7 separate regions of the Homo sapiens genome follow, and regions 2, 3, 4, 5, 6 and 7 are each linked to region 1. The links are contacts of gene promoters, found by promoter capture Hi-C in blood cells and fetal thymus (Javierre and others, 2016). All regions are on one chromosome and are shown on one strand. The core of a region is centred on a gene start or on the middle of the fragment in contact, and the rest is flanking DNA. Distances in the headings are between cores, read along the strand shown. Region 1 holds the start of ALDH1B1 (aldehyde dehydrogenase 1 family member B1). Region 2 overlaps SHB (SH2 domain containing adaptor protein B). Region 3 overlaps SHB (SH2 domain containing adaptor protein B). Region 4 overlaps SHB (SH2 domain containing adaptor protein B). Region 5 overlaps SHB (SH2 domain containing adaptor protein B). Region 6 overlaps SHB (SH2 domain containing adaptor protein B). Region 7 overlaps SHB (SH2 domain containing adaptor protein B).

What was found. The method cuts DNA at HindIII sites, captures the fragments that hold promoters and counts their contacts. A CHiCAGO score of 5 or more calls a contact.
Region 2: a contact is called between a fragment that was not itself captured here and the fragment with the promoter of ALDH1B1 in region 1, in 14 of 17 cell types (naive CD4 T cells, megakaryocytes, total B cells and 11 more). The highest score is 15.4, in naive CD4 T cells.
Region 3: a contact is called between a fragment that was not itself captured here and the fragment with the promoter of ALDH1B1 in region 1, in 8 of 17 cell types (naive CD8 T cells, total B cells, total CD4 T cells and 5 more). The highest score is 9.6, in naive CD8 T cells.
Region 4: a fragment that was not itself captured here is called in contact with the fragment with the promoter of ALDH1B1 in region 1 in 6 of 17 cell types (megakaryocytes, naive CD8 T cells, total B cells and 3 more); the score reaches 6.8 in megakaryocytes.
Region 5: a contact is called between a fragment that was not itself captured here and the fragment with the promoter of ALDH1B1 in region 1, in 1 of 17 cell types (naive CD4 T cells). The highest score is 5.5, in naive CD4 T cells.
Region 6: a fragment that was not itself captured here is called in contact with the fragment with the promoter of ALDH1B1 in region 1 in 2 of 17 cell types (monocytes and megakaryocytes); the score reaches 5.5 in monocytes.
Region 7: a contact is called between a fragment that was not itself captured here and the fragment with the promoter of ALDH1B1 in region 1, in 2 of 17 cell types (naive CD4 T cells and activated CD4 T cells). The highest score is 7.1, in naive CD4 T cells.

The regions. Positions count from the first base shown.
Region 1 is chr9:38,391,028-38,394,899 of GRCh38, forward strand. ALDH1B1 (aldehyde dehydrogenase 1 family member B1) reads left to right here and starts at 1,675. Exons shown (of 2, transcript NM_000692.5): 1 at 1,675-1,780. RefSeq lists a silencer at 1,442-1,761 and enhancers at 1,972-2,021, 2,062-2,151. The HindIII fragment of the contact is 5,526 bases long and covers 1,128-3,872 here.
Region 2 is chr9:37,921,271-37,925,142 of GRCh38, forward strand. All of the region lies in intron 5 of SHB (SH2 domain containing adaptor protein B), which reads right to left. Among named protein-coding and RNA genes, the nearest start is that of SLC25A51, 19 kb to the left of the region's middle. RefSeq lists enhancers at 1,084-1,183, 1,930-2,541, 2,042-2,336. The HindIII fragment of the contact is 3,831 bases long and covers 116-3,872 here.
Region 3 is chr9:37,937,903-37,941,774 of GRCh38, forward strand. All of the region lies in intron 5 of SHB (SH2 domain containing adaptor protein B), which reads right to left. Among named protein-coding and RNA genes, the nearest start is that of SLC25A51, 36 kb to the left of the region's middle. The HindIII fragment of the contact is 1,413 bases long and covers 1,363-2,775 here.
Region 4 is chr9:37,958,480-37,962,351 of GRCh38, forward strand. The region is part of intron 3 of SHB (SH2 domain containing adaptor protein B); the gene reads right to left. Among named protein-coding and RNA genes, the nearest start is that of SLC25A51, 56 kb to the left of the region's middle. The HindIII fragment of the contact is 566 bases long and covers 1,611-2,176 here.
Region 5 is chr9:37,977,132-37,981,003 of GRCh38, forward strand. The region is part of intron 2 of SHB (SH2 domain containing adaptor protein B); the gene reads right to left. Among named protein-coding and RNA genes, the nearest start is that of SLC25A51, 75 kb to the left of the region's middle. The HindIII fragment of the contact is 4,096 bases long and covers 1-3,872 here.
Region 6 is chr9:37,996,815-38,000,686 of GRCh38, forward strand. The region is part of intron 2 of SHB (SH2 domain containing adaptor protein B); the gene reads right to left. Among named protein-coding and RNA genes, the nearest start is that of SHB, 70 kb to the right of the region's middle. RefSeq lists an enhancer at 864-1,365. The HindIII fragment of the contact is 7,612 bases long and covers 1-3,872 here.
Region 7 is chr9:38,017,805-38,021,676 of GRCh38, forward strand. All of the region lies in intron 1 of SHB (SH2 domain containing adaptor protein B), which reads right to left. Among named protein-coding and RNA genes, the nearest start is that of SHB, 49 kb to the right of the region's middle. RefSeq lists enhancers at 1,208-1,502, 3,662-3,872. The HindIII fragment of the contact is 1,310 bases long and covers 1,265-2,574 here.

The DNA.
Region 1 (3,872 bases), core at 425-2,924:
GTCCTGGAGTGCTATGCCAAGTGCCCAAGGGGAGCTAGGCTGTCCACGTGCTGTGGGGGAGGCAGGAGGGCCTTGGCAAGGGGCTCATGCCGTTGCTGGAGAAACCCGAGGAAAGCATGGGCATCAAGGTGATAAGATGCCAATCATAGTGCCTTCATGGATGGCTAACTTTTGCAGCAAGGGCTGTGAACATGCTAAGGATGATATGGTAGCAAAAGATTCCATAGAGATGTAGCTTAAGGAAAGAACTAAGTGAATTAGGTCCAAGCAGTCGCATGTGAGCACCCTAGATCAGTGGAGAGGCAGGGATTTAATACAAGGAACTGGGTGCTTACAGACCTGCTGCAAGTGCCGGAGGCAGAAGCAAGCCTTAGCCAGACCAGGACCAACTCTCAGGACAATATGGACGTGGCCCACCAGCCTCGTGCCTGTCTGAGGCTACTTCAGACACCCTCCTGCAGCCTCCATTCAAAGAGCAGGAAGCCAGGTCAAGGAGCGGCTACAGCCACAGCGGCCGGTCCACAGCCAGAAAGCTGGAGAAGGGACAAGGAATGCTGCCGCAGAACATCTCCCATTTCTGCTATCCTGCTAGTGCCACCCTACAGGGGCAGGACAATACCCTCCAATGCGTGCCCGCCTTCCACATCCGGCAGAGTACTACTAATTGGCAGCACCTAGTCCACATCCAGAACTCTAACTGCAAATGAGGCTGGGAAACATGGCGGTTAGCTTTGGGACCTCCCTAGCCAGAAGGAAGGTGCAGCGAGGGTGGAGCGAGTGAGATGCATGTTCAGTGGTCCATCTTGGCAACCTTTATAGCAACAAAATGGAGACAATTAAATGTCCAACAGTTTACCCCTACAACAGAATTCTATGCCACCTTGGAGAGGATGATGTCATCTGTAATTAGTGATAGGAGAAAACTTCAAAATACAGCGCTAAGTTTTTAAATTTTTTTTAAAGCAGCACAACAGAGGTTACTATATGATTTTATTTTTATTAAAATAATTTTGAAAGATGCAGAGGAAACAATACTAGCAGGACGAACACCGTAATAATGGCTACCGTAGGTGAAGAGATTACAGGTGATATTTTTCTTCTTTTTTCATCCTTTCCTGTGTTTTCCAAGCTTTCTACACTGTGCATACATTCTTTTTGTCCTTAGGACAAAAATGTACTTTGAAAAATGCCCAAATATAAAATCTTCTTGAAGGAACTGAAGAAAGGAGCAGTGAAAGTGGAGGACAGAAATTAGTGAATCCTGGACAAAAAAAGTGAGGGAGAGGCGAGGCAGAGAAGGGGTTAAGGGGAGTCTCAAGGATGGCAGTCGATTAAGCAGCGTCTTGCAGCGGGGAGAAATGCAAAGTGTAGTTGGGGTTCGGTCTCCGAAAACTTTGCTGTGTGACCTGGGGAAGCCCCTGCCCCTCTCTGGGTATCTCTGTTTCCGCTCCCAAACCAGTGCCTTAGGAGCCTAGATCTGAGCAACGTGGACACTGGGCTTGCGGAGACCCGAGGGAGGGAGCGCTGAAGCGGTGCGGGCTGCCGGGGGTAGAGGGGCGGGGACCGGGAAAGACCGGGCGGGGCGAGGGAGGAGCGGCCTTGGCCGGCGACAGGACGTAGGCAGCGCCCCAGGCGCAGGCGGAGCCTCATTGGCCGCTGAGCCCCGGGCTGCGCGGAGGCGGGACCTGCGGCCAGCCCTGGGCGGCCATGTGGACAGAGCTGGGAGGGCCGGAACCAGAACCCAAGCGTGATCCTGAACCGGAGCCCGAGCCTGCTGCAGGTAACTAACGCTGGTCTCCCCTCGGCTCCCTCGGGAAGCCGCAGCTCCTGGCTCCGCGTGGGGGCTTTCCTCTCTGGGCCGCGGCGTCCGCATCTGGGGGCTGGCCTTTCCGCCGTTGCACTGTAGGACTCTCTCCACGTCCCCTAATCCCATCCCCCGCCTCTGGGTGACGCTACAGGAGCCCCGAGGACACAGACGCCCCCAGACCTTACCACGTTAGCTCGACCTCAACACTCCTGCCCACTCGGCCCACTTCAACAGAGGGCCCCTGACCATAGCCCAGAGGCTTGGACAAGCCCAAAGGTTGCGCCCTTTCCCCCGCAGAAGGGGTGAGGTGGGCGCCGCTGCAGTTCCCGCGGATAGAGAAGGTCCGGTCCTTCCCGCTGTGGGTGAACTGTAAAAAATTGCCTGTATTCAGGAGGATATGCAAAGCTAGGTTTGTGGAAGTCTGGGGTGAGGCTCCTATACTTTCTTGCTGTGTGTCCTCGGTGAGTCCCTGAACCTCTCTGATGCCCAGCCTTCTTCCAGAATGGGGGTCATCATCAACCCTGACCACCCAGGGACTGCAGAGAGGCTTGGCAAATTTCCCGTGAGAAGACAGCCTGCAAACTGTAAAGCATGATGCTCTGTGAGCTGTGATCTTCCTATCAGCAAGTGGAGGCCCCAGCAAGAACCCCATATAGGCCCCAAGAGTAGGAACGGCCTTGGTGTGGCTGCAAAGGTTTGCCAGCCTTGGCCTATGACCACCTCTCCTGACTGCTTCACCCCTCCAATCCTTACCCCATGGGTTGGTGACTCCCCTTTCCCCTACCTCCTTTTGGTCTCCTCACCCTCAGAGCCAGGCCTGTTGGTGGCAAGGGGGCTGTGTCCCAGCATATGGCAAAGTCCTGAGCTAAATGGAACCCTGGGCACCCCTGGCAGATCTGCTGACTCAGCTTCCCCCTGTGGGATATGATGAGGTTTCTCTTCAAATAATCTGATCAATCTTTTATTCTTTAATTCTTAGTATCCCCCCCTTTTTTTTTTTCATTTTTCTCCTTTTTGCCTTTGTTAGATGCCCAGGCATGCCACAGTACCAAGCGTTATCAGTACCAGCTCACATTCCTTTGCTTATTTGGAAAGAAGACTAACTTTCTAGCTCATTACAGACACCCTTTCCCCTTTCTCTCCACTTTCTTTTACGTGCCCACTCTATCTAAAATAAATCAAATGTTTAGCCAACCGGGATTAGTTTAGATTGTACGACCTGACCCCAGCCAATGGGGAAAGGGTACAGGGGCAGGACTTGCATCAGGAATAAAGGCTCTCGTGCCCCTTTGTTCAGGTGTGCTCTCATGGCAACTGGCCAAGGAGGCATCCCTCTGCGCAGAAGTAAAATTGCTTTGCTAAGAATCCTGTGTTCGAGTGTTCAATTTCCTTAGGATTTTGAGCATTATTCCTAACACCCGCAAGGGGAAGGGAAACTTTCTTGGTCAGCATTGATTATTATTATTTTTTTTAGATACAGTCTTGTTCTGTTACCCAGGCTGGAGTGCAGTGGCACAATCATGGCTCACTGCAGCCTCAACCTCCTGGGCTCAGGTGATTGCCCCCACCTCAGCCTCCCAAGCAGCTAGAACTACAGGCATGCACCACTATGCTCGGCAAATTTATTTTTGTTTTTTTGTAGAGACACGGTTCTTGCTATGTGCTCAGGCTGGTCTCAAACTCCTGGCCTCAAGCAGTCCTTCCACTTCGGCCTACCAAAGCGTTACCAGCGTAAGCCACCACGCCCATCACATTGATTTTTATGGGGCCGGGGACCTACATGGAGCCTTGCTTTCCTGATTGAGTTTTTTGTTCCTCTCCCTGCCCAGGGGTGGAGGGTGAGAGGCTGGGGGTGAAGGGACAGGCAGGTGCAATTCCATTTTACCGCTGGGCGGAGCAAGACTCATGAGACATCAAAGGCAGAGAGATTCAAATTCTGACTGAAGAATAACTGCTTCAACTAATCTGGGAACACTACACTCTGTTTAATTTTCATTTAATATGTATTATATGCCGTTTAAGTTTTATAACAGTAGTTGTTTTAACGAAGTCTACACTCTTCAGA
Region 2 (3,872 bases), core at 781-3,280, 470 kb before region 1:
AGCAGACTTGAAGGTTTGCAGCCTTTCCGCTCCAGCTCCGCCCCTAGCCGCTGTCGCTCCCACAGGGGCTCTCAGGGCTTGAACACATCTCTTCCAGTCAGGACTGGGCTTCCCAAGCTTACAAGTGCCCACTCTATTAACACCTTAATTTGGGCTCCAGGACCATTTTTAAATGGGCAGAACAAATGCTTAATGAAGTGCGAGCACTAAGCAATATGTCTGCTCATAATAATGTATTTAGAGATGTCACCCTTAGCTTAAAGGAAATCGTTGGGAGAGCCAATTACATTTCAAGAGAGACTAATTCCTGTAAAGAACTGGAATTTAAATCAAGATTTTTTTTAAGGCTGGCAATGTTCTAATTACAGAGCCTGTGGCAAGTTCTGCTCCTCAGTGAAGGGTCATTTCATCGGAGAATTGCCTAGACACGTCTGAGAAGCAGGCGGCGCACTCGCTTAGGCTGCAGAAAGGAAACGGCATGTGTGTTACAAGAAGAATGTAAAACTCCATTCCAGCAAAGACTCACCTACCCACCACGCCGAAGAGACCACAGATCTGTGCCAGTTTGGAAAGGGCTGTGATTGCTTAAGTAATGCGCTGAAACTGTGTGGCTGAGAAAACAGCAGAAGAGTTAAAAAGCTGAGCTCTCAGAGCCACATGCCCAGCTTTGCCTGGAGAAGGGGTGTGGAAGGGCGAGAGAGCAGGGCTGGTAAGGAGGGGCTGCAGGTGCCAGGGACACTCAGCAGGGAGGAGGGTATGACCCTGGGCACATCATTCCCCTCTGCGTGCATGCACTGAGTGGCCTTACGTTTTTGGGGTGCTGGACCAGCAGGCTTTGTGATTCTCACAGATCTATACCTGGGGGACAGAGTGGAGGAGGTGTCAGGCAGAGGGTCACAGCCGCTGGCGGGAACTGAGTCTGCCAGTGTGCAGGTATGAAGCTGCAGGGGAACAAGCCAGTTTCATTTTCAAGGTTAGGAGAGTAACTCACATGGGTGAAGGCAACATTTCATATGAATTTGTTCTACGGCATCTGGCAAGGGAAGTGGACAGTGATAGCAGCAATGGCTCTGACAGAGTCCGAAGCAGAAGCTAAGCTCCTCTGTTCCCAGGTTAGGGGCTTAGAATGGCCACCAAGTACTAAAAGCCACACAATGTCCTCTGTACCTTGGCTGCCGACAGATAGCGAGGTGGGGCAGCTGCCAGGCTGAAGAGAGTCTAGACGTCCCCGGGAAGTCCCTCCTGCCTGTCTGAGCCTGCTGTTTATCACCCCCAACACACTCCTATCTCGCCTGTGTAAGCACCCACGAGTTTACCACCCTGAGCCAGGCTGTGCCGATGGGGCAGACTGGTCATGAAGCTCAGAGACCAAGGCAGAGCTGGGACCAGCACTTGGGCTCCATGAACCTCTAGTCTGTGGCCTGACCATTCTCAGGCAGAGGGAGAAAGGCGCGTTCACATGCTGACCCTCCTGGGCTCAAGCACTGCACCCCGTGGGTTCCCTGGCCCTCAGGCTATCCTTGTGCCTTGCTGGGCTCTGTCCCTTCTCCTGCTGCATCCACAGGGAGGCTGACTAGATGACCCTGGGGGGTACTTCCAGCCCTAGATCCTGGATTCCACATGTGCAAAACATAATCTGCTGCCTACCCGCTGAGGGCTTCCTGCAGGAAGGGGTCTGCAAGCAGCCTCACACCTTCCCTCCACCGCTGCCCTCATCCCCAGTCCTGCTTTCACTGGGGCATTGGCCAGGATTGCCTTCAGGGACAATCCTTCCTGTAGGCCAGGCTCTATGTCCTGAAGCACCGAGGTGCAGAAAGGGGAGGTGTCTGGCCCAAAGTCACACAGTGATTATCAGCAGCAGATGCCCAGAGTCAGTGCTCCTGACCTCAGCACTCCCCAGACCTGAGAGAGGGCCTCATGTAACCCTCAGTGTTCCATGTGAAGCCAGGCAGAGGGGGCGGATGAGAGGCGTCAGACTCTGAGCAAACATCCCCTCCACGCTGATCTTCCGCCTCCACAGCGCCCATGGTGCAGGGCTGACGGCAGGTCAGAGACAGCAGAGGGGCTGGGAGTAAAAGACAATGTGTGGCACCCACACAAGGGGCTGTGCCGAGGATTGGAAATGGCATGTTCTGATTGGTGGAGCCCCCCAGCCTGAGAGGCAGGGTGGTGACCGCCCCCCCAGGGGTCCGAGGTCCCGAGACTATCTGCCAATCCTCGACCAATGCAAGGGTCAGGTGACGCCTTGTCCACACACAGCCAGGAGACATGCTGTGACAATACATTCTCATTGGTTAAGGTCCCCATGAGGGAGATGCCATCTAACAGTTGAAGATTTAAAAGCAGCTGCCAGGAGTGGCTTCAGTGACTCCCACCTTCACACAAAAGGAGACGCGAGCATGAGCAAAGGAAGCATGAGCACTTCTGTGGAGAACAGAGGGGTTCATCAGGCAAGGAGTATGGCTGCTCCAGGCAGCATGTATTCTGAGCTGCAAGCAGCCTGGGGGTCACCTCTCACTCCCCTGGGGTACCGTGGAGGAAACTGAGGCCAGAGAGTACACTACCCTGGCCCAAGGCGCACAGCAAGGCAGGCTGCAGGTGAACCCAGAGCCCCGGCCCCGCATCCCGAGCCAGCTGAGCCGGGCTCCGAGCCACATCTCCTCCCACCCTTCTTCAAGGCAGCATGGGCTTCCACACCTCGGCACCGTCATCAGCACCATCGTCGTTCAGGGAGGGCATTGCCCCCGGGGAGCTTCAACAGGCTGCTATGCCTGCCAAGCTCCTGCATCAGCCACATCTCCTTTGATAGGACATCTTGCGAGGGCAAAGTCACAATGAGAGGTGTCTCTGGTGGGTGACCTGTCTAATGAGTCTTGTAAGGCTGGCAGAGGCCGGGGTGCTGGAGCTGTCACAGGCGTTCAGATCGCTCATTATCATCACAAAAAGCACCTCCTCATCATCAGGATTATCAAATGTGCCGGGCACGCAGGGCTAATAACAGGCCCCACCTTGCAGCGCAATCACGGGCTTTAATAAAACATTACTCAGCCTGCAGCTGCCGGCCGCCGAGCAGGGTGCGAGGCCTCACCTCTCGCTTTTAGACCTAATTGCTTGATGCATATTTCATGAAGAATCCTGGGTAATAGTTATGTTAAATCGCTTCTTTTCATGATGAAATGACTTAAAAATACTTGCATATAATATTTATGCAGGAGAAGGATGGAAATTGGCCTTTGGGACTAATGTGTGGGACCCAGTTACAGGACTCCAGACACAGAGGGGATTTCTGGTTTACCTTAGCTTGAAAGGTGCATGGGGAGCTGCTGTCCTGACCCAGATGTCCCCAGAACATTAGCCCTCAGGTCAAAACCATCTAAGGCTCCCCATGGCCAAAACAGATATAACAACACCCAGTACTTCAAGAGCCCCTACTGGGTACTGGGCTCTGAGCTGAGCTGTTGCCACATATTATCTCATTTAAACTGTAGAGCAAACAACTTTAAGTTGTTAGAATGATCACTGTTTACAGATGGGAAAACTGAGGCTCAGGAAAATTGTGTCTCATGGGACATGGTAGGGCTAGGATTTGAACCTATGTTTGTTGAACTCCAAAGCCTGGCATTCAAGGCCCTGAAGCTCCCACCACAGCCTCATCTTCCTCTGCTCAGCTACCCGTTGGCCTCTTTCTGCCCCAAGATCTGGCTTCCCTGCAGCTTGGTGAGAACTGGAGGTTAAGAATCCTGTCAGCCCATTGTGATGTTTCTCAGCAGGCTGAGCCTTAGCCCCCTCTGGCCTCTGGGCACACATACATGCCTGGCACACAGCTGGGGCACTGTGCCCATCACCCATCCACCCATCTATCCATCCATCCA
Region 3 (3,872 bases), core at 819-3,318, 450 kb before region 1:
ACCCCACCAGGGTCTTGACCTGGATGATTCAACTCCCTTTGGGCTCTGACTCCCCAAAAGTCTGGGGAACAGTCAGGCCCTGCCTTAACACTGGGATTTTACCACGTGAAGTTAGCTGCTTCAAGCCCCACCGAATGCCTCTAGGTAAGGGCCAATCATGTTTCCTGTGGGGCCTTTGTATCGCTTACCCAGCTATCAGTAAAATAAGCCCCTACAGCACAAAGGCTCTGCAAACCACCCTACCTGCATCTGTGCAGCCTCTCAGAGTTTACAAGAGCTTCCACTGCCATTGCAAATCTGGGCCTCAGGGCTCAGAGGCTGAGACGGGAAGTGACTCACTGGTGACCTCCTGGCTGGTAGGAATGGTGGGATTCAGGCTGTAATCCCCGGGCTCCTGATCACAGCCTTCCTCTCCATGCAGCCACCCTTTCACTGATAGCAGATGTGACGTCTGCAGCTGTCCTCGTGGCCTTCCCTGCAGCACCCTCTATGCCTTCTCCCAAGTCGCCAACCAACTCATTCCCAGATGGCTTTTGCAAAAATATTGTTAAATAATTCAAATTAACAAGATGTTAGAAATGTGATTGGAAAGAAATGTTTTTCTCATTTGGAGAGACCACCCAATGCCTCAGAAGGCAACTGTCCCGGGGCACGAGAGGTTTCCTGGAGACAGACGGGCAGTTGGAATGCTTCCCTGGTGGCGGAGCCGCACAGGCAGATTTATGTGGGCTGATACGAGACAATTAAAAACCGGCTGGAAATGTAATCGCGGCTGCTCAGATGCTGGAGAAGACCAAGGAGCTCCGGTAAAACAAAGGGCACTGCTCCATCCCTGGCTCAGACGGGAGACGCAGCAGTCCAGGGAGGGAACCCCAGCCTGTTGACGGGCACGTCTGGCACTGCCGGGTTGGGGGGTGGTGCACTGGGCCGTGAACTGGCAGAGTGAGGCAGAATGAGAGCAGGCACCTCTTGCCTCTGCGTTTTAGGCAGCATTGGGAAGGGGGAAGCTGAGCTGCAGGGAGTCTGTTTTCCTGGTCTTTTCCAGGTCTACGTTGCAGCCGGGAGAGCCACTATCCACCCAGCTGCTCCGAAATCTGGATGTGGTCCTTGACTCCTCACTCCTCCTCCCTCTCATCAATTCTACCTCCACACACCTCTCCTTTCTACTCCCACTGCCCTAGTCCTTCTCTCCTGATCTATATCACACACCCAGGGCCAGATAGGGCTTCCTAAACTTCTCTCTCATCAGGTATGTAGGCCGCCTGCCACTGGCCCCTCTGAATTGGCCTTGGCCTCCTAGTTTGCTACCAGATAGTCTCAGCATCATCAGCCTAGCACCTGAGTGCAAATGGAGAACTTCTAAGCTTAGCTGGAGCAAATGGCTGAGAAGGGTCAGGAAAGAACAGTGGTCCAGGAGCTGGGCAGGCTCAGCCTCTGCCCCTCCCTGACAACACGGCCTTAAGACAGGTTAAGCCCCTTTGAGCCTCTGTTTCCTCTTCTGTAAAGTAGGAGCAATGAGTTGCGCTTTCTTCACAGCTCCTTGAGGGCTGGACCCAGAGAAGAAACTAGACTCTTCTATTTGGGTCATGGATGCTGACACTGTTGGCTCAGAACCAGCCCCTCTGGTTTCAGGTCTCTGGGCTTTCTCCATGTCACCACTGCCTGGGGAAAGGGGTCTGAGAAATGCTGGGCACAGGGCTCATGGTCACAGGTCCTGTCAGAAAATCCAGCTTTGGTCCAGAGAACTAGTTGGCCATTGGCTGGGCTTCTCAGGGCCTGCTAGGGAGGAATGGGGGTGTTTCTATTCCGAGAGACCCCACAAGGTAGAAAGAGGCCTCGAGCTGTGTTGCAATCTCATCTCTTTACTCATTAACTGTGACGTAATGTGAACACCAGTTTCTTTATCTGTAAAAATGATGGCAATGGTTGCTACTCTTCTTGAACATACTATCACAGTGTGAAAGCTGGCTATTCCCAAATATCAGGCCCTGTGCTGGGCATGCTGACCCGTATCACCTCACTCACATGTTACAGCAGCCCAGAGCAGGTGGCGGGGCAGGATTTACACTTGCTGTGCTAGAGAGTAAACAGAGGGCTCAGAGAATATGCAGAACTCAAACTAGGGTCTGTCTGAACCCTTCAGAAAGGAAGGGTGCAAATCATGGTGACTAGTTTGGGATCCCGTAACTTGTCAGAGGCAGAGCTAGGATTTGAACCCAGGTCTCCTGGGCATAGGCCCAGGGCTGTTCCTACACTCTCCACCCCCACTGCACCAGAATCACCAAAGCACCAGGCTCAGAGTCCAGAAGAGGTGCCAGTCTAATGTTGAGGGTGGCGTCCTTGGCAATGTTTTACCACCAGCAGGGCACATTTTCTCAGTAATTCTGAATAAAGGGAAATGTCATCTAATATTCCTCACAGTGTCCCCTCAATGGTGCACTCTCTTATCCTGCAAGGCATCTGCACATTCTAAAGTTCACTGTTCTCATTTAGTCCTCTGCAAAGAGTGTTTGAGGAGTCTCTGTTTTGCCTACAGCAGTGGCTTCTAATTGTGGCATTTCTTTTAAACCTTTTAGAAGGAGAAAACACGAAGCACGCTAATTGAGCAGAAAGTTCATTTTTCCTCCATGAGCCCTGAAAGGACATGAAATCCTCCATGCGATAAGAGCAAAGAGACAGACCCCCTCTTCCCCCACCACCCCTGCTGCCCTGACTCAGGCTGGCTCAAATGCTGCTAGCAAACAGCTTGCCTGCTGGGAAAGCCAGAGGCAGGCAAGCTTCTTCCTCTTTCTGGGCCTCAGTATCTCCACTTGTTCAAGATATTGGACCAGAAAATTGAAAAAGTCTCTTTCTGTTCCCTAAACCCCAAGATTTCTGCTTAGGGTATTCCTGGAGCTGCTACCTTGACTGGCTGCCAACATGCTTCCCTATGAGATGAGGAGGCCAGACCACAAGTTCGGAAGATGGGCAGGAGAGCTGGAGGGGCAGCAGCATGGTGATGAAAAAGGATACCTGTTGAGTGGTCATCATCTCCAGCTCCTGATGAGCAACTAGGAGGTCAGAGAAGTTCACTCATTCATCCAAGGTCACACCAAAGCACAACGTACAGAGTGCAAGAGAGGTGAGAGGTTCAAGACAGGTTATCCAGGAAGAGGGGAGCCTGGATTGGACTCCAGTTCTGTGAGATTCTCTAGCATTCTTTCCAGCTGTAGCCAATAAAATCTAGAACCCATCATCGTAAAGGACAGTGGATGTGGGCACAGATGGAGACTTCCAGGTTGAACCCAGACAATTTGCAATGCACTGGGACACACCGAGCTCTTTCCCCAACAACCCGTGGCTCTCTGAGGTCCATAATAAAGACATTTGAGCTACCACTGATAGAGCACTCACTATATGCTGGAGCATATGCTAAGCACTTCACATATATTGTGTCTTCATTAATACACCTGTGAAACCCATTTTATAGATGAGAAAACCAAGGCTCAGAGATGTTCAGTCCCTTTGCCCAACACTACCCTGTTAGTATGTGGCGGAGCTGGGTTTCAAGAGCCTAAGCCAAGACCCAGAGCCATTGTCTTCACCGCTGTGCAGAGCTCCCTCTGTTGGGGGAGTCATGGGGCACATGGCCAGGAGCTCAGGGCCCCTGCAACCACTGCTGAGCAGTGTGGGGGTCCTGAGGCAAGCAGTACTGTACCTGAGCTGCACACACCTGCCTTCCCTGAAGTTTGCTCTTAAAAGGCTTCATCATCCCTGCAGGGGCCTGGCTGGGGAATACAGTGACCTACTAAGTCCACTGTCAGGTATTCAGGTATGCTGGGGCTGTGTGGGGAACTCAACAATGGCCAGGGAGGTCCCACTGTGGCCTTGCA
Region 4 (3,872 bases), core at 644-3,143, 430 kb before region 1:
AACCTAGAGACACCCACAGCTCCGTGATGCCAGGGCTGGTGGTGTGGAGAGGAGGCAGAGTGAGGACTCGCTGGGGGTTCCTGCCCTTCCTTCTGGCCACAGTTCTTTCCTGTGTCCAACTACACACAGACAGCAATGACCTCAAGGCCTTCCCAGGGGACAGGTCCTGGGGCTGGAGAGTGAGAAGGCCCTTTCCCATCAGCTAATAAGGGGGCTTTTGTGATAGTGGCCTAAAACCTGGAGCTGGGGCCCTAGCACACACATCACCACCAGCATCTACCCCTCGCTGGCCTTCCAGTAGCCTGGATCTCCCAGTGGGGTTCTGGCTGAATGACGGCACCCTGATGGCAACCAATCATGGGACATATGGTCTTGGACAGGGGGTTGGGAGAAGGAGAGAAAGAGGTGAAGCAGGTTCTTACCCGAGCCCCTACTTTGCAGAGCCCTCCATGGGTGACCTTGGGCAGGGGAGAGCACTGGGGCTAGACAGACAAATTGGGGCCATGTCATCCTGGAGCCCCTTTCTAAAGAGCTTGGACTTGAACTTATAGATGGGGATAATCAGAGAATGGGCTTTAGAGACCTCTCTGAGTGCTGGTGGAGGGTGGGTTTGGGGTCAATCCTGAAGACGGGAAGACCAGTCAGGGAAAGGTGATGGAGGCTGACCCCCTCAATGACGGGAGGGATGTAGAAGCTTGACTACTTGTGGGAGTGAGTCCGGGATAACTGCTGTGTGATGCCCAGATTTCTGGCTTGGGGGAGGGTGATGCCCCCATTGGGATGGGCACAGAAGGGGATGTGGTCAGGGAGCATGGGACTAGCCTGCACTTCTCCATGATGCCTCCCTGCTGCTAATTTTCTGGTTGTCAGGAATAGAGAGGATACAACTCAGCAGGCATCCTGGCCCATAGGGCTGCCAGCGTTGAAGGGCTGCGGCTTGCCCTGGCATAGGAAGGGGACTAAGCTGGAAGTGAGGTTCTAGGCTTAGTTTTGCCACAGGCTCAGGAGACCGAGGGACCAGATGAATTATAAGTCACTTTCACTCCTGACATCCTGGGGCTCCACTGGCTAAAATCAGGATTGGGGGATTTCTGCCAATATAAATCTCTACAATCGACATCCCGACACAGAAGGTGAGCAGAGAGGCATGGAGCACAGAACATGATTGTGGAGGGAGCCCAAGCTTTTCGGCACAACCCAAAAGGCTCTCTAGGACCCGGCTGCTTGTCCAGCCTCAGGTCCACCAATCTCTTCACCTCACTAATACCACTTACCCTCCAGAGGTCACCTATTTCAGGAAGCCTTCCTGGACCTCACCTCTCCCAAGACTCACCTTGATCTTAGCACCCTAACTGCATGTCCTACCCTGGCTCCCGGTGAGCCCCCTGAGGGTAGGGGCTGTATCATGTGCCCCTTCCCCCATACCTAGCCCATTACCGGCAACATAACAGGTGCTCAATAAGTGATTAAATGAAGAAACTTAATGAACTGCTGTTTAGCTTTATTGGGAAAAAAAAATCGGTTTCATACCAGATAAATTGGATAAAAACTAGTAACGTCCTAGTCAACAATGTAATTCCCCACTGAAATAATTTACACATTTGCTGGCAAGCTTAATAATATAGCCATATATCTTAGAGAGAACAGGTGGTGATGAGTGACAGGCTTAATTAGGCAAATCATTTCACCTAAAATACAAATATACAAACTCCAAGTGCAGTGATTCGGCAGCCTAAGAAAAAAAATGTTAAGAACAAAAGCACCAAACACAACTGCTCTCATTCCTTCTAATTACGTTTCTCCTTAATCTGCAATTTAACATGGCAATTCTTTTAATTTAGTGATTTTTCTGCAAAAGATAAAGACACAGTCCTTCAAAAGAAGATCTGCATTTAGAGAAAAAATATGCTACCCCCGTGAGTCATTAGAATGACAGAACCTAATTAATTTCACCTATGGGCAATTAAAAATGGAAGTTGGAATCTGAAGGAGGAAAGTAAGACTCAGAGCTGTGCAGGTTGAGGCTCTGGGAGCCCTTCTGACTTTGGTTCCAATGATGGGGACCAGACCCTGGTGGTTGATGGAAGAGAGAGGCTGGTCAATGTTTTTCCAAAAGTTCTGCCATGGTGGCAGGACTCATTCCTTGAGACCCAGCTCAAGTGCCTTGCTTCTAGGAAGCTTTCCTGGCCCTCCCATCTGGATTGGTCCCCTTTCTGCTTGTATGACAGATTTTACACCAATCAGTCCTAAAATGTGGTCACTGCCAACAACAGAAGACAGCATCCAAGACACCTAGCTTAGCTCTATCCCTCCTACTGGCCCTGCCACGTGGGTAATGGGTGAGGAACGGCGGTCCAGAGGAGTAGTAGGAGGAACTCCTCCAGGGTCTCAAAGCCAAATAGCAGGGTGAGGGTCAAGCCCAGGACTGCAGGCCTGCAAGGTCAGGCTCACCCCACCCTTGGGTCTTCATTCCCCACAAGAATACCTGAGGGCTGCTGGTCTGGCAGGAGCTGGGCCTCATTCATCTGGCCTCCCTGCTGTGCACTTCCTACTTCTAGGCCTGGAATTACTGCCCTTCTGCTCCATCTGAATGATGTCTAGGAAAGGTCTGGCACAAACGCCACCTCCTCCACAAAGCTTACCCTGATGCCACCTGCAGAGAATTATCATCTCCCTCTTGGTGGCTCCCAGCCCTCAGTACATCTCCTGTAGCTCAGGGGGCATCCACACCACTCTTCTCAGTCAGCCTGGGTGCTGTGGGTGCTGCGCCTGGGATTTATTTTTCTTTGCCCTCTCCAGTCTCTTGTCTGCCCCTAACTCACAGAAGTTTCATGTGGAGAAGGTGCTTGGATGAGATAAATGTGTTCCTTCAGGGTGGATCTCTTTCCACTGTCCTGTCCACTGTTCAGAGCTGGCCAGAGAGTAAACTCCAAAAAGCCGATGGACCTCTAAAGCATAGCTCTCCTGGGTTTGCAAACCCTCCCTGCTCCCCAGTGCCCCAAGACAAAGGACAAATTCATTCTGGCGCTCAAGTTCCTCTGAATTTGATGTAATGATGCAACTTCCCCTACAAAACCCCTGTGGGTTCCACACCCACCCTTAGGTTCCAATCACAAAGGACAGCCAGTCCCCAGATCTATCATCTGCCTTTTTGTCTTTAGGGCTTTGTTTGGCTAAGTCTACCCTCTAGAATCCCTTTACTTCACTATTTCTCTGCAAAAACCCCAGCTATTCTTCAGAGCTCAGCTCCAACGTTATCTCCTGGGGTAGGTTTTGCTCTAGACCCCCAGGTAGAATTCCTTTCTCCTCCTCTGAGCTCCAAAGTCTGCACCACTGTCCTGGCACTGGCCTCTGCAACACTGAGGCATGTAGGTGTCTTCTCAGAATTGGACACTTTGCAGAGATGGGGCCATGTGCCTCAGTCTCCTCGGAGTCTCCCCATGGCCGACCTGCAGCTAGCTCCGATGAATGGCCCGTGGCTGAAACCCACCCAGGGAATGGAGGAGCTGCAGTGACTCGACTCACAGTTTAGGAGTCAGGAGGACCTGGGTTTGAATCCTGTCTCTGTCATTACTGAGTGACTTGGGGCATGTTTCTTAAACTTCTTTGAGCCTTAGCTGCCTCATCTGCAAACCAGGGCTGACAATACCTGTACCGTGAAGGTAACAGATGATGTACCAAGGTCCAGGCAGGCCCCCTGTAAGCGGGAGACCCTGACCCATGGTCACATGTACGCTCTGATACAATGCCTGTATCAGAAACCACCCCTTTTTCTGACTCCTGCTGAAATTCCTGAGTGAGAAGCTCCAAGAAGATAGGGCATTTCATTCTGTTTTGTTCAAGGCTAAATTCCCGATACCTAAAACAGTGTC
Region 5 (3,872 bases), core at 696-3,195, 410 kb before region 1:
ACTTTTTAGATAAAATAAACTCATTTAAAAAAGAGACTTTGGATCACCATCCCATAAGCCATTATTCTTTGCCAAAAATAGATACTAAGCAGAATGAATAAAAACCAGCAAGGTAGGTGCTGATGCCTGCTGGGAAGCTGAGCGTGGGGCTTGCTTTCTCTGCTGAGAGGTGAGATTTGCAAGTGTTGGAGAGCCACCGGGAAATGCAATCAGCAAACAGACACTTTCTCTGGCAAATATGAATAATCTTCTCTCCCTGGAAAGAGAGAGAATAAGAAGGGAAAAACCTTCTCACTATGTAGTTCTCAGGGCACCTAATATCACATCTATGAGAAGGTGTCCCACACTTTGGCAAACACAGCTTTTATTGGGTCCCATGAGTAAACTCGGATCATTTATTAGTTTTGAGGATGATGCTTCCTTTTTTTACCGAGGGAGGAACAGGAAAAGAGAAGGGAAAAGAGTGGTAGGACTTTGTCACTTTACGGTGAAGACCAACTGTTAAGTACGGTGGACAACTTCGTAAATCACTAAATCTACCAAACTAATCTGCAACTTATTGTCTTGTAGGGTCCTCATCACCTGTATTCGTCTTCCTCCGTTCTGAGGAGTGAAGTCTAGCCTCCTGTCTGCAGAATTCTGGGGGCTGAGGATACGGCAGCTGAGAAGGCACTGACCTGGGAAAACCACCTTCCTCTTCACCCTCCTTCACAAAAGCAGGACCAGCAACCACTCCCATGTACACAGTTGATGAAGTACTTTTCATGCAATTCACCATTTAATCTAAAGGAACCACAAACAATTCACAGATGTACTTCCCGTCGGGCCCCTGATAATCAGGAGTGCTTTTGCTCACTCTCACGCCAAAGAGATACTCAGTGAATGTGGTGGGATAAATGAAACAGAACTGACAGCCAGAAACCACTATTTACCCCCAAATTCCAGATACTTTATGAAAGTCCCTGACAGTAGTGATAAAGGATCTGGGACAATATGCCAAATGCATACAGTTTAGTGTTAAACAATATGCATTAGAGACAGATATTCTCCATAAACACCAGCCTTAAAGGGAAACATGTGCAGTGAACAGATTAGCTATTAAATCAGAGGACTTGTGCATACACCTCTCATGCAGGATTTATTGTTCCAGAAGCATCTGCACCTTACCAAAGCTGGACTAGTAATGGCATGCAGTTAGGGCAGGGGATGTTATAACGGTAATCATTAAAACAAGCCTCCCCCACTACATTACATGGCGAATTCAAATTTTCATTAAGGCCCCAACAATAGGGAAGAGTTAAGTAAATTATGGCATGTTAACTGGATGGAATATTAAGCAGCCATTAAAATGATCAATCTGAAGATTATGTAGCGACATGGGAAACCATGCAAGAAATTATGCTAAGCTAAAAAGTAAAATGCAAGATTGTTTATGTGTGGGGGGCAAAGTATAACGCAGGCTTTTTAAACAAGTCTCCGTCAATATGAGCAGGGCCCCACAGGGAATTCTGCTCCTTGCCTGGGCATTGGTAAATACTGACATCACAGATTTGGCCTATATCTACACTGTGATGACAGCAACGTTGTAAGTACAGACATCCACAACACCAAGAGCTGAAAAACCCAATACAGGAAGGTAAACAGCTACTGTGTAGAGGAGAAGGGATTATCGCGTAATTATTTTTGAAAGTTGTTTTAAATAATGAATAAAGACACTAGAGCAGAAAAAATGTAATTAAGATGAGCACATGAAAGAGAGTAAATATGATTTTAAGCAGGCTGGGCTTCCAGGAGCTGCGTGTATTTAGGAAGCAGCTGCCTTTCCCTGAGAAAATGCCCATTTGGGAGCATCTTCTCTCCTGGGAGAGGCTCACCAACAGCTCCAGGACATCGAAGGCCCTTGTGCCAGGCCAGCTTGCCAGATGTTGCTGCCTCCTGCCTAACTACCAGGCCCGTCTTCCTTATTAGCTGGGCCAATCCATGAGGGTCCAGAGACCGATCTCACAAGGGAGTCTGTGACCATATGTTTTAAGTCACAAGTTATCTGAACATCAGCATCTACACATTCATGCAAAATGACCTTTAATATTAGGTGGCAGTCTGTAATTTCATGCCTCTTAGGCAGAAAGCAGAAACATTAACAGGATGGGGGTTTCTGTTGACCTCTGGAGCAGAAAGGTTTGTAAACAGAACTACATACATAGAAAGAAAAGAAGACTAAAGCACTTTCTTTAGAATCAGAGAATGTTAGAACTGAAAGGGACCCTAAGAATTTGCCTGGGCCCATTCACCAGGAGAGCTAGGCAGGTGTGCTCCCCACAGACTGCGGCCATGGCGGGGTCTGCCCATGGGAATGTGGAGAAGGTAAGGGCTGGGGAAGAGAGCAGGCAGTAATCCTGAGAGGATGTGATGGGGGTTTAAAAGATTGCCCAGTCCACAAGCAACAAGCTATACTCTGCTCCAGTATTCACCAACTTAGTGCCTCCCTGAAAAAAAAAAAACAAAAAAACAACAACAACAAAAAAAACAGGCCCCCCCACCAAAGTTGGGTGCAGTGGTTCATGCCTGTAACCCCAGCACTTTGGGAGGCCAAGGTGGGCAGATCACTTGAGGTCAAGAGTCCGAGACCAGTCTGGCCAACATGGTGAAACCCCATCTCTACTAATAATACAAAAATTAGCCAGGCATGGTGGCAGGTACCTGTAAAATTTTTTGGTTTTCCAATGCACACAAAAGTTATATTTATATTATACTGTAGTTTATTAAATGTGCAATACCACTGCCTTAAAAAAATGTAGAACCTTAATTTTAAAAATATTTTATTGCCAAAAACTGCTTACAATCATCTAAGCCTTCAGTGAGTCATCTTTTTGCTGGTGGAGGGTCTTGCTTTGATGTTGCCGGCTGCCGACTGATCAGGGTGGTAGTTCCTGAAGGCTGAGGTGGCTGTGGAAAATTTTTTATGCCCCTCCCCCCAGCTGTGGGAATTTCTTAAAATGAGACAATAAAATTTGCCACATAGATTGACTCTTCCTTTCACGAAAGATTTCTCTTAGCGAAAGGCTGTTTTATAACATTTTACCCACGGCAGAACTTCTTTCAAAATTGGAGTCAATCTTTTCAAACTCTGCTGCTGCTTCATCAACTAAGTTTATGTACTATTCTAAATCCTATGTTGTCATTTTAACAATGTTCCCAGCATCTTCATCAGGAATAGATTCTATCTCAAGAAAACTGTCTTTGCTCATCCATAAGAAGCAACTCTTTATTTGTTCAAGTTTGATCATAAGATTCCTGCAATTCAGTTACATCTTCAGACTCCACTTCTAATGCTAGTTCTCTTGTTATTTTCATCATATTTGCAGTTACTTCCTCCACTGAAGTCTTGAAGGCCTCAAAGTCATCTGTGAGGACTGGACTCTTCTTCCAAACTCCTGTTAATGTGGCTATTTTGACCCCTTTCATGAATCACAAATGTACTTAATGGCTTCTAGAACAGTAAATCTTCCCCAGAAGGTTTTCAGTTTACTTTGCCCAGGTCCATCAGAGGAATCACTATCTCTGGCAGCTATAGCCTTATGAGATGTATTTCTTAAATAATAAGACTTCAAAGTTGAGATTACTCCTTGATCCATGGGCCGCGGAATGGATGTTGTGTTAGCAGGCATGAAAACAACATTCATCTCCTCGTACATCCCCAGCTGAGCTCTTGGGTGACCAAGAACAGTGTCAATCAGCAGTAGTATCTTTAAAGGAATCTTTTTTTCCTTAAAGTTGGTCTCAAAAGTGGGCTTAAAATATTCAGTAAACCATGCTGTAAACAGAGGAACTGCCATCCAGGCTTTGTTGTTCCATTCACAGGGCACGAGCAG
Region 6 (3,872 bases), core at 852-3,351, 390 kb before region 1:
CTGATTCACATGTCAATTAATCACCCAAGGCCTTAAGACATTGCCAGTGCTGGCTCTAACTGCCCTGTGACTCTCCATATCTACCGGCTTATCCTGGACTAATTTTCTTGCTTGATCCAGGTTTGAGAGCAGAGGCTCTATGTGATCAATCTGTGTGTCTGCCTGGTGTCAGGAGGATTTCAATGAGCTCAATAGTCTGAGTCAGGGAAATGGGAAGCTGACAGGCAGGAGGTGGGTGGGAGCAGGTGAAGGTTCAACAACTCCAGATAGTCCTGTGGGTACAGTCCAAGCCCCTTAGGGGGCTCAGAAAGCCCTTTATGAACTAGTCATCGAACATCTTGGCAGCCACGTCTCCCCTCTGTAAGTTCTTGAAGCTGCAGCCATGCCGGCCACAGGCTGTATCTCCATTTGCAAGCCATCCTTTCCCTCTTCTCTACATGACACCCACCTCTGAGTTAACTTCAGGACCCAACTCAGGTGTCAGCTCAGCACCTACGAAACCACTGGTGGGTCCCCAGAGCCACTAGCTAGTCCTCTCCTCCAGGTCTGAGCTTGGGCTGCTGCCTAGACAGCCCCTTCCCTCCTGGCCTGCTCATCTTTTAAGACTTAGGCCAAGCTCCAATTCCTTGGAAGCCTTTCCTGCCTCCTTTTCCCCTGGAACCTGAGTGATCGAAATACCTCTGTGGAGGTCCCCACAGCGCAAAGTAAAGCCCAAGACATGTCAGACCTGAGTCCACATCCACTGGGGCTTGGATCTCATTTATGTCAATCTCTGGACGCCCAGTGTAGAAGCTGGCACAGGAGGGTACAAAATGACTGCAGAGTGGGCAAAACTCCTAAAGTACTGCTACCCCAAGTTATCTCATCTTTGTGGTTGGCCTTCTGGGCTGTCCAGCTCCACCACCTCAGGACTGGAACCCTGTACCTCTCACATCACAGAGACACGGAGGCCGAGGCACTCTGCTCCATCACCCCAGGGCAGATGGCCAGCTTATCAAACAACAGCTGTCCAGGGCGACAGCAGCTTCTCACTGTGTGACAAGGGCAAGTGGCAGAAAGGACAACAAGGCCCTGGGGGCCTGAGGCCCAGGAGGAGACCCTGCTAAGGGGCAGAGGGCCCTGGGATGGGATGGGGATGAACAAGAGTGATGCTTCTTCCTGGCTTGTGGTACCCACTGTGTCCAACCGAGCAAGCAGAGGCAGTGGCAGGACAGCCCGTGTGACAGGCACTTGCTGCATTCTGCTGTGGTGGAGCTGCTTTCTCTTGTAAAGTGCCGCCGTGCCCAACTGCCTGCTTGTAAAGGGGAGCGCGACGGGGATTTACAGCATTCCTGTTGCTCTGAGCTCTGAGTTACGATTCCAAGGCACCAGTGGCCGGGAGCAGGCAGCTTGGAGGGAGGAGGGAGGAGGGAGGGAAGCACTAGGGCCAGGGCCCCAACACAGTACTGAGCTGGACCGCTATCCTGCTGGCCTGGGCTTCCTGACCACCAAGGACTCCATAAACGGTAAACTTCCCAGAACTGCAGGCGCCCCAGAGACTCACAACCTCCCCCACCACCCTCAGGGCCAGATACATGGTCTCTGCATCGCCTGTTTTCAAATCCAGGAAAGCACATGTTCTGATGGTCTCAAAATCCTATTTTGTTTATTTATTTAAAGACAGGGTCTGGCTCTGTCACCTAGGCTGGAGTGCCGTGGCACGGTCTCAGTTCACTGCAACCTCCACCTCCTGGGCTCAAGCAATCCTCCTGCCTCAGCCTCCCGAATAGCTGAGACTACAGGCACACGCCACCACGCCCAGCTAATTTTTGAATTTTTAGTAGAGACGGGGTTTCACCATGTTGCCTAGGTTAGCCTCAAACTCTTGAGCTCAAGCTATGCACCCTCCTCGGCCTCCCAAAGTGCTAGGATTACAGGTGTGAGCTGCCCTGCCTGTCCTCGAAATCCTATTTTGAATGCTTATTTTTCAGGGACAAACAGGAAATCCAAATGATTAATATGTTTGCAGCCATTAAACTGACTTCAAAGGCAAGGATGAGATGGAAGCAGAGGAAAGGCCCATTTTTCATCCAGTTTCAACCAGCTCTTCCCAAGAGCCAAGCTCTGTGCTAGGCTCTGGGGAACCCACTGTGAGTCACTCAGGCCCTGCCCAGGCTGCTGGAGGAACTCAAGAGCAAGGCAGAACAAGAGGGAGGAAGTCCCTGCGGGATCACAGAGCCCTGGGGAGCCCCTCAGTGAGGAGGACAGTGAGCGTTTACACAGGAAAGCAAGTGGGTGATGGGGTGCTGCTGGACCCTGGGAACCCTATAGGGTGTGGGATTTGAGGAAGGCCTGGAAAGTCTGGGCTCAGATCTGAGGAACCCAGTGGAGATCTCTGAGCAGGAAAGTAACATGATCTAGCCAGGCCTGGGAAACTCATCAGGGGACAGTGAGGAGGGATCTGTGAAAGGCTGAGACTAGCAGGCGAGCTGATCTCACTCTGTTCTCAAACCTCCTAGCTTCTCTCCTCCCTGAGGTCTCTCTCCTGCAAGGGGTGAAGGAAGCCTGCTGCAGACTCGGGGTGACCAGGAGCTCAAATGGCTGCTCCACTTTATTCAGCTGATGCACATGCAAAATGACAGCTGTTTCAAATACACTAAAAAAAATTATTTAAAGGTATATATGCTACAATTAGGCCCAATTCGAAAGTAGGCTTCTGTGGAAAGATATCCCCTAGGGAGGCTAGTGTGACTTGAGCTCACAAACAGGTTTCTGGAGTGCTGAGTGGAAGCTGCAGACACCAAGCGCCGCATACTGAGTGGAGGTCTGACAGAGACTGGGGACAAACAAAGGCAGCCGAGGCAGCAGCCCAACCACCAGCAGCACGTGGGAGGCTTCTGTGTTCTGGGAGATTGTGTCCCTGTGTGCATCCAGCGTGTCTTTGTGTGACTGCCACCACTACCAGGACAGGTTAGCACTAAAGTCACCTTAGGATCTGGCTGAAGCCTTGACTTCAGAGATGGAGAAACTGAGGCATGCCTTGTCCAAGCTCAAACCGGCTGTCGGAGGAGCTGCAATTCACTCCTGCAGCCTCCAGCTCATGACTCTCTCCACTAGTCACCCCATGCCCTCTACCCCCAGCCCTGTTCTATTTGGCCATTCAGAGATTTACAAGATTCCAGTATGAATCACAGCTTTGTGAAGGCTGACAAGAAGAGCCACGAGGCTGGGGCACCACACCTGAGTGGGTGGTTTCCATTCCTTTCCACAGGCCCAGGGCTGGGTCCTCAGGACTTGCACAGGTAGCTTCAAGGAGACAACAGAACGGATGTCCATCCCTCCCACAGGCAGTGGAGAGAGAAAAGAGAGGGAGCGAGAAGTCAGCGAGAATTGCTGCTGCTGGCAGACCAGGCCAGGCCAGACCACAGCTTGAACAACTGAAGGAGACCCCAGGCCTAAGCTCTTTGCTAAAGCAGGGACTCTCTAACCATGGGACCATCTGTCCCAGAGCCATGGAGCCATGTATTACAGTGCAAGTTCTCGGGCTTCAGTGAGGGCCTCTACAGGATGGGGCCTAGGAATCCGCATTTTCACCACTGCCCACGACCTTGCCCTTGTTTCCCCATGTTGACCATGGTACCAACTGACCCTGGAAGGCCCTGCACTCATGGATCTTCAGGGCAGCCTGCCCTTCACCTTGACCCAATGTGGTGAGCAGAGCCAGGGGGCGGGGGCATTCTCCTGAGCCTCCCATCCTCTGCACTGTGTGCTGATTCCCAGGTGGCGCTGTTCCGAGGCCGGGTGGGCTGATTCTGTCTGCAACGCTGGGCTAACCTGTACAGTCCATTGGGAAATGCAGTGTGATTTGGCCTCCAAAGTCTTTGGGGGCTGCT
Region 7 (3,872 bases), core at 670-3,169, 370 kb before region 1:
GGCCAGGGAAAGAAGGGGTGGGAGAGAGCTAGGCCTTGCAATGTCTTTCATTTGCTATTTCTACTCTACCATTTGCAGAATACATTAGGGAGAAAATTATACACATAAACTGCTGTCAAACGGAACAGTTCAGATGCTGGTCAGGTGCAGGGTTTTGTGTCTCAGAGTTCAAGGGGCCAGACATCCAAATGGAGAAAATGAGTTGCTGCTGTGGATGACATCTAATCTTATTTCTCTTGTCCCAGATTTCCTCACTGTCTCTCTTCAACATGAACATGCTCCATCTATTTTGCAATAAGGAAGGGAAAAAATGTCTCCCCTGGAAAACAAAATCATTTGGGGGGATTTGCTGGCGGGGTGGGAGAGGCAGTTGGGTTGCAGTCTCCATAGTAATCTAGAAATCGCCATTCCAGCTCTCAGAAGTGCTCTGTAATTTGCAAACACAGAGGTTTGCAGGATATAAACCAAATCTTTGTTTGCCCTGGGACAGGAGTTCTGGAAGGACTGTGATTCAGCAAGTGCTACCTATATTTTCTAATTAAAATGAGATCTGAGCTCAGGCTGTCATGGAGCTGCGGCTGCCTGCTCCACTTACTTCCGTTTCAGTAAGAATGTACAAATCCTAAAACCAGGAAAAGCCCCTGGTCTCTGCTGACATATGGTTCCAGTTATACCTGCTGACAGTTGAAAATCCTTCCATTGAAAAAAAAAAAAAAGTCTAGAATTCTGTTAGTTTAAGAAGCAAATTGGAAAGTTCCTAAAATGTATATTTAATCAATTTGCTTTTGAACTTCAAAGTGAGGTTGGTGGAGGGAAAGAAATTTGAGGTTTGAGCAACCTGAAACTTTGCAAACACTACACTGAACTGTCTGATCTTTTGCAAAATGATGTCCTAGTTTTGGGAATAAAAATTCAACCAGGTGTTAGGAGAGTTGAGCAGGCAGTCAACCAGAGTGCCCTGTGAAGTACCATGGGCCCCAGCCATCAGGACTGGGCAGTGTGACCACTGTCCAAGCTGCCTGGGGCTCACCGCCAGTCCAGATGGCCATGCAGAAGGTTTGTGTGAAGCGTGCTGCTTTTTTGAGCTAAAAGAAAGAGAATGAGTTTTCTCCAGATGTGAGATTGGATTTCTGACGGGATTGCTTTTGCTTTGCTTTAAAACTTCCCAGTTAGTGGACAACTCCTGTATATCTAATTGAACAATTCAACCAAAAGGGAGCCAGCCGGGACTCCTCTGCAGGCCAGGCCACCTGGGTCCACAAGAAGCTTTCCTTTTAGTCTCAGATTGGCAGAGACCTGGCAGCCACAGAGGCAGAGCTGAGCAGTAGCAGAAAAAAAGGCTGTAGAGTGCGGCTGCTTAGTCAGTGAGCCACGTCATCTTTTGTTTGCTCGGCCTCTTGGGATGAGTGCTAAACCCCAGGCAAGCACCTTTCTTGCTTTCAGACAAAACTACAGACCCCAGGTCAGCCCAAAGCCCCTACAGGGCTTCCACAGGTTTGTCCTCCTGGAGACCTGCTCTGACCTCCCCTTGTTTTCCACAGGGCCCACTGCAGGGCGTTGTCAGTCACCTAGCAAACCAGCAGTGGCCTGGGGATGGCCTCTCCATGCCTCCTCTCTGGAACGCACACTGCTGGGGCCCCTGTGTTTTTATCTTAGAAACTTCACTTTGTGATAGGAAGTAGTCTGCAGCTGTTCATCCCAAAGGAAAGGACTAGAGGAAGGTGGGTGTTGCCCCTTGGCCACACTTCCCTATGGACTGGTCAGAGTTTTAGTTGCTTTTGTGGGACAGCTGCACTTGTGAGCAGAATTGGGTCCTCTCCACATGCTTTCAGTGGAAATGCACTTGGGTGGAGACACTTACAAGGGTAACTTTGGGCAGAATCCATTAAAATCCCCAAATGCGCCAAGTTTGACCCAGCAATTTTACTTCTCAGTATTTATTCCCAAATGTGCATAAGGGTCCATGGGAAGGATGCTGCCTGAAGTAATCATGAGAAACCACCCGAAACTACTGCATCCATCAATAGAGGAATCGCTAAATAAACTGTGCTAGTTCCATACGATGTAACATTATGCAGCAGGCTGAAAAAAAAAATTTAAAAAAAGCAGTTGCTCTGTGTGAGCTGGCACAGCACTCCATGACATAGCTCTGAATGGAAAGCAAGCAAGCTGTAGAATGATAACTACAACATCATACCTACTTAATGAAAAACAAAACAGAAACCTGTATCTCTATTAAGTTAAAGAAAGGGTCTGGGAGATGCACACTCCAAACTGACCCCTCTTTGGGAAGGAGGGAAGGACTTGGAATGGGGTGCTTAGGGGAAGTCAAAAGAGACCTTCTCTGCAATGTTAAAACATTTTCAAACAAGGAGAACCTATTCATGTACTATGTGCAAAACTAAACTTGCTTAAAAGCACTCCTCTTCCACAGGCTATTTTTGGTACAGTAGACAGAATGTTTCCCAAACTTGCCTGAAGACAGGAATGGCTTGGAACGCTTGTTAAGGAAACAGATTCCTAGCCCCAATAATCTGTATTTTAACAAGCAAGCCAGGTGATCCTTATCAGGAAAGCTTGGGAAACAATAAGCTAGAGCCAGCACCCTTCCCCACCAGTCTAGAGACAAGCCTCCAGATATTACTCTGGAATTGTACTTTTCCCAGGTATTGCTCAGCCCTGTTCGTTGAAGTGAAGCAAGAAGTTTGTGCTAACATGCAGCTCTTTTGTTTTCTTCCCTGGTGGTCAACTGGAGAAAAAGAGGACCCGACGTGCCATCTCCAGGATCTAAGACATGGAGGAAATGGTAACCCCTCTGCAATCATGTGGGCTGGCTCCAGATTGAGCAATTCGGCCTGTGCAGGGGGAGAGGGCTACCAAAATCTCACAAATCACCACTAAAGAACTTAGTCATGTAACCAAACACCACCTGTTCTCCAATAACCTATGAAAATAAAAATTTAAATAAATTTAAAAAAAGACTTCTGCCCTGTCACCACCCTGAAAGTGACGGGGTGGGGGGGTGGCCCAACAGGGATCCTAGCCCCGAGGATCTTGCAAGGCAAGGCTTTCTGTTTGAAACCCACAGCAGCTTTCAGGCCAAGGCCAATTTACTCTCAGCAAACTCGTTCTAGGAAGATCACCCGGCTACAGGAAGGGCTGGTGGCACTTCAGAAGAGGAGCCACTGCAGAAATGCAAAGGGAATCTCTGCTGAAATTGCTCAAACCTGCTAAAAAGAATGATGAGGCATGTCCGGGCTTAGTGGCTCACATCTGTAATCCCAGCATTTTGGGAGGCCGAGGCGGGCGGATTACCTGAGGTCAGCAGTTCGAGACCAGCCCGACCAACGTGGAGAAACCCAGTCTCTCCTAAAAACACAAAAAAATTAGCTGGGCCTGGTGGTGCATGCCTGTAATCCCAGCTACTTGGGAGGCTGAGGCAGGAGAATCACTTGAACCCGGGAGGTGGAGGTTGTGGTGAGCCGAGATCGCGCCATTGCACTCCAGCCTGGGCAGTAAGAGCGAAACTCTGTCTCAAAAAATAAAAATAAAATAAAAAAGAATGATGAGGCTGGGCACGGTGGCTCACACCTGTAGTCCCAGCACTTTGGGAGGCCGAGGTGGGCAGATAACCTGAGGTCAGATAACCCTGAGTTCAAGACCAAGCCTATCCAACATATAGTGAAACTCTGTCTCTATTAAAAAATACAAAAATTAGCTGGGCGTGGTGGTGCATGCCTGCAGTCCCAGCTACTTGGGAAGCTGAGGCAGAAGAATTGCTTGAACCCAGGAGGCGGAGGTTGCAGTTAGCTGAGATCGTGCCACTGCACTCCAGCCTGGGTGACACAGCGAGACTCTGTCTCAAAAGAAAA